Regions from separate parts of the Homo sapiens genome. Here region 1 is linked to region 2. Evidence: promoter capture Hi-C in 16 types of primary human blood cells and fetal thymus (Javierre and others, 2016). All regions are on one chromosome and are shown on one strand. The core of a region is centred on a gene start or on the middle of the fragment in contact, and the rest is flanking DNA. Distances in the headings are between cores, read along the strand shown. Region 1 overlaps LOC105370765 (a long non-coding RNA gene). Region 2 holds the start of TMCO5A (transmembrane and coiled-coil domains 5A).

Region 1 (2,803 bases), core at 173-2,672, 2.8 Mb before region 2:
GGAGAGGGAGGAGAAAGAATACGAGGGCTACTAGGCAGATATGCACAAACACAACACAGATCCAGAAAAAAGATGCTAATTGGTATTTTTACATTGGTATGCAAGAGGGAAATCAAGGCTCATTTAAGAAAATGCTCACTTTCTGGGCTGGGCACGGTGGCTCATGCCTGTAATCCCAGCACTTTGGGAGGCTGAGGTGGGTGGATCATGAGGTCAGGAATTCAAGACCAGCCTAGCCAAGATGGTGAAACCCTGTCTCTACTAAAAAGACAAAAATTAGCCAGGCATGGTGGTGGGTGCCTGCAATCCCAGCTACTCGGGAGGCTGAGGCAGAGAATTGCTTGAACCCGGGAGATGGAGGTTGCAGTGAGTGGAGATCATACCACTACACTCCAGCCTGGGCGACAGAGTGAGACTCCATCTCAAAAAAAAAAAAAAAAAATGCTCACTTTCCCATAGCTGCCTACAACTTTGTGCACTGATAGGGTCTTACATATTTTTGTGTTTTGGATGCTGGGATAGTCATCAACATACACTAATTTTGATGCTGATGATCTCTAAACTCTTCTGGCAAGAGGGCATGGTTAATAAAAGTTAAAAAAAAACAGAATAAAATGGATTCATATATATATGTGTGTGTGTATACATACATAAATATATATACACACACATATATATATATATAATGTTTAGAACCGAAATCAAATATATATTTGTGTACGCTAAGAGAAAACCTTGTTAGTTAAATATTGATGTGAGGGTCTGTCACTTAGTGGCAAAAATTCTTCAAATTTCAAATCTTAAAGATCTCTTCCTCAGTTGTGGGTTTCTCGCAATCATGTGCTGGATGCATACACTACTACAAAGATCTCTGGGAAATGCTCTTTGGCAGCAGGACTTGGAAATTATGACGAAAAAACACTCACTAGCACAAGTTGTGTAAAAAGATGTTGATGCTACTTTCTGAACATTTAATAGCTGTTTGCATTTATTTATACACATAAGTGGCATCACCATATTAATATAAACTGTTTCTATCAAAAGTCGAAGGAAGTGAAAAGGAGAAGAGGGAGATTCCTAGAGAAAAAAGGGAAGCACAGAATCAGCAGCCTCTACCTTCCAAAAACATTTCAAAAATCACTCTACCCATCAGGAGGATTTTACATTTTCCCACTTTATAAAAGGAAGGGAAATAATTCTCGATTGGAGAGAAAGTGACCTTATGATCAAGCCATTGCATTGTTTCCCCACTTTTCAACTTGTAAAGAGGGCAAGACATAGCTACCCACCTTCTGAAGCAAGGCAGGCCTGAGGTTGCACTTGCTTCATGTGCAGTTCACAGTCAATGTCACATCTACTGTGTCTTCCGCTTGCAGCTCAGATGCAGTCCTGAAATGCATTAGATGGCATGTGATGGCTTTTTCTGGGTATAGTATCAGAGTGATTCATGAGAAAGGGATCAGAAATGGGTTGAGTCTTGCAGTGCACAGTGTCTTCATACCCCTGACTAAAATGCTAACAAGGGAACTTTGCAGGGCTCTAAAACAACTCTCAGTCATACTGTAGTATATACAGTGCTCCCCACATTGGCCTGGGATTAAGATCCTTTTGAAAGGCCAGGCGCGGTTGCTCATGCCTGTAATCCTAGCACTTTGGGAGGCCAAGGCAGGCAGTTCATCTGAGGTTGGGAGTTCGAGACCAGCCTCACTGTTTTTTTCATATGAAAGGAGCCATTCACATCAATGGGTGCTTTGCGGGCCCTGGGGTCAGAAAATAGGCAGACGTACAAGGCAGTAGGTACCCGTTTCCATTCTTAACTAGGCTAGCATTTTTCCAGTTGAAATGCCCAACATATGCACCTTTAAATGCCTTACTTAGGCTTTGAATGACTGCAAAAAACAAGTTTTGCTTACGAATTTAGTTTTCCTGTTTTCTCAGTGCTAGGGAAGGAGCACTTTCTTCTTCTTCTTCTACTGACAATGAGGCTCAGCTCTTGACAATTTAAACTCTGTAAGAAACTCTAGAATTTTGATGCACTGTTGTATTCACTCATTAAGGAACAAAGCCCCTTTCCAAAATAAATAGACTTGAGGTCTAGATCATGAAGGCCTGAAGAAGTAAAGTTAGGTGCAGAAGAGCCGTCTTTTGAAGAAGTTCACCATGAAAATAGTGCACGGGCACAGAGTGGCTGCAGTTATTGCTTATGAGGATAAATGAGATAATGGATACTCACGGGCTGAATTGTGTCTTTTCCCCACAACCCCTGTCCCAAATGCACATGCTGAAGTCCTGACTCTCAGTACCTCAGAATGTGACTGTACTTGGAGATAGCACCTTTAAAGAGGTAACTAAGATAAAATAAGGTCATATGAGTAGACCTTAATACAATATGATTGATATCCTTATAAGAAGAGGAGATCAGGACACAGTCCACACACTGAGGAGTGACCATGTGAGGACACAATGAGAGGAAACCATCTACAAGCCAAGGAGAGAGGCCTCAGAAGAAACCAAACCTGCCAGCACCTTGATCTTGGACGTCCACCCTCCAGAACTGTGGGAAAATAAATTTCTATTGTTTAAGGCACCCCATTTGTGGTATTTTGTCGTGGCAGCCCTAGAAAACTAATACAGATTTGAAAATATTGGTAATTTATAAAGTATTATTATACAAATGTTAGTTATCTTTATTATTATGTGATTGTGTTGCACTGGAATAATGTTATTATTCTAAAAATAAGAGTGAGGGAGGAAGACATATCATGAAGGAGCTAGGGAGTGGAAAGTGACCTGGATGTTAAAA
Region 2 (2,792 bases), core at 114-2,613:
GGTTTTCATGCCTTCCCTTCATGCTCCTAGATCTGCTGGACTCTGTGTCCATCTCAGCACAACTGGAGGGCTTCTCTTGTCCACCAAGCTTCTTACCACATCTACACCCCACTTAACGGGTCTGAGAATGCTCAGTCGCTTCTTCTGCGCCACCCTAATTATACTTGCAACAACCTCCTCACTCTTACCTCCTTCACCTGTTTATGTTTCCTCATGGCAGTGTTACCAAGCAAAAGAGTGTCACTGCCCAATGTGCTGGAAGCCAATACTATGACACAAGGTTTGTGAGAAAAAAAAGGCTTTTTACTGTAGGTCTACTAACAAGGACACAGGAATCCAACTCAAATCTGTCTCTCTGTGCTGGCTCTCAGGCAGTACTTTTATTAGAAAAGGTTTAGGGAGTGGATTCTGGAATTAGCAAATGACTGGTAGAAGAAAAGGGGAGGTCTGGAAAGTCCTCAGGCATGCACGATTATCTCTTCATGCCTCCTTATGGGTCCCATGTGCAAATTCAGGGGAAATTAGTATAAAACATGCAGTGGAAATTCAAGCTGTGACATCAGTAAGCTTGTTCTGCACAGACTCCAGTTGGCCTTATTGGTTCCAACCAATTTCAGCTAGGTTTTTTGTTTTGAAATCTCTCAAATAGAGGGAGTTTCAGCATTTCAGCAAGTTGTTTATTTTCTTATCTGCTATTCTGCAAGCTCAAGAATTTGTTAGTCACTGGTTTCTTTAACTCTTTGGGGTAAAATTTCAGCAGTCTCCTCTTTTATCATATCAAGTAAAAATAATTTTATTTATTTTATTGATTGTGTTACCAGTCCCCCCTACACACACGCGCGCGCGCGCACACACACACACACACACACACACACACACACATCTTAGAATATAAACTTCATGAGGTCAAGGGCTTTTGGCTGCTTTGTTCATTCTTTCCCTCCAGTGCTTAGAACAGAGCCTAGAAGATACACATCGTGTTCATTCAGTGTTTCACTGTTTGTTGAATGAATGAGTAGTTAGTTGGCTACATGATGAAATTAGACTGCTGGCCAAAAGACCTAGACTTTCCATTTTAGTCACACTGAGGCAGGAAGAGAGCTTTATCTGCCAGAGAAATAAAAGATAGAGGTTGCCCCTTCAAACAGCCCAGAAATCAAATCCATTGAACCTACTGCTATCCAGGGAAGACTTGGCCATGAAATCCACACACTTATCTAGGCTCTGGACTCTACACAAATGATGAGAAACCATTGCCACCCACCCCACTATGACATGTTGCCCCGCCCATCCTATGTCATGACCTCTCAGAATGTTCTGAGATTCTATTGGATAGTTCCAGTGGAGAAAGATTAGACTCCTCAGAAGCTAATTGACTAGGGAAGGATCAGGAAGACAAGACACATCAAAAAGGGGAGGTAGAGTTTGTAGAAGAAATAAAGGGGAAAAAAAGAAACTAAGGGGAAGGGAGAGACAAATGATTTACATATACTTGGTTTTCTGAGCCCTCTTTAATACTAAAGATCTTAATATCTGGAAATTCTGGCATAAGCAAAGATAGAGAGCAAAGATTACTTTTCAGGGATATTGTAAACCTACATCCATGCCCATGGGGCTTTATGGAAAGCAACTGGCCTAGAGCAAAAAGAGACTTATTGATTATCTCTATTTCTTTATATTGTCTTGTATAAACTTCCACAGGGTTTTATGTTGATAAACCATCTCTGACTATATCTATTAATAGGACGTATATTCCAGCATTATCTCTGTATCCTGACTGTATCTTTAATAGGGTATAATCAGAACACGGGCAGAAGAATCAAAAGGCTGAGTTTTGTCATGGTTAAAATGTGGGGATTAGAGGGAGAAAATGAGTTAACTTAATTTGATTTCTACTTTTTGGGACTCTTCCCTAGTTACTGTATTCATAAATGAACCCATTTCTCCAATTCATTAGATACATCTCTGTTGGCATTTTAGGGAATCTACAATGGAAGGACACAAGAAAGATCAGCTGGATTAAGTAGTCATGATTATGCAAAGCCATATCCAGAGACCAAGGTGTAAAGCAGGTTCGCTATTGACCCCTTGCCTCATCTTCCAGCCTCCTTCTCCCCTTCTACTCCTGTTATGCAACCACCTCCGCACCCTACCCCAAGCATGCCATACCTTCCTGAAGTGATTACTGTAAATCCCCCATCCAAGCAAGCCCTTCCAAGATAGGACTTAACTTTCCAATATTATCCTTCATTCCTATCTAAAACAAAAGCCTCTGTGCCTCACTGTGCTAATAGTGGTTAATCAACTGAAACACAAACCAATGAATTAATTTACATTAGTAGAAAAAGAAAAATATATCAAGAGCCTCCCATGTACCCTTCCCAAAATACTCTAGAGTTACCATTATTTCATTTAAATTTACTTCAAAAAAGATATTTGCATTTTTGAAAGCTATGCCTAGAGCCTATGTGGGTGTGCTCAATGGAATTACTCTCATGGTAAAAATTTCAAACTTTGTAGCAGGCAAGTGAGGGAGAGGTGTTGAGGTGGGAGAAGGAAGGGAAAGATTGAAGCCCTATCATGCTGGTGGAAACCCCTTGTGGCTCTGCAGAAAGCCAGGCCCAACCAGAAGTGATATGCCAGGTGCTTAGATAAAAGTGTTCAATAAATGTGTATTGTATGAGCAGGTTTTGTGAATAGTTTATCTAAGAAAAGATTGCCAAGAGAAACATTTCTCCCCAGCGCAAGGGGTTATTTAAGGAAGCAAAGCTTCTCAAGAAACCAGAGTGAAG

What was found. Contacts are between HindIII fragments. The CHiCAGO score rates a contact against its expected background, and 5 or more counts as called.
Region 1: a contact is called between a fragment that was not itself captured here and the fragment with the promoter of TMCO5A in region 2, in 1 of 17 cell types (M2 macrophages). The highest score is 5.2, in M2 macrophages.

Annotation. Positions count from the first base shown.
Region 1 is chr15:35,095,237-35,098,039 of GRCh38, forward strand. It overlaps LOC105370765 (a long non-coding RNA gene), which reads right to left. Exons shown (of 2, transcript XR_932103.4): 1 at 1,290-2,803. Among named protein-coding and RNA genes, the nearest start is that of NANOGP8, 11 kb to the left of the region's middle. The HindIII fragment of the contact is 2,996 bases long and covers 1-2,803 here.
Region 2 is chr15:37,933,277-37,936,068 of GRCh38, forward strand. TMCO5A (transmembrane and coiled-coil domains 5A) reads left to right here and starts at 1,364. Exons shown (of 12, transcript NM_152453.4): 1 at 1,364-1,418; 2 at 1,981-2,072. The HindIII fragment of the contact is 2,202 bases long and covers 566-2,767 here.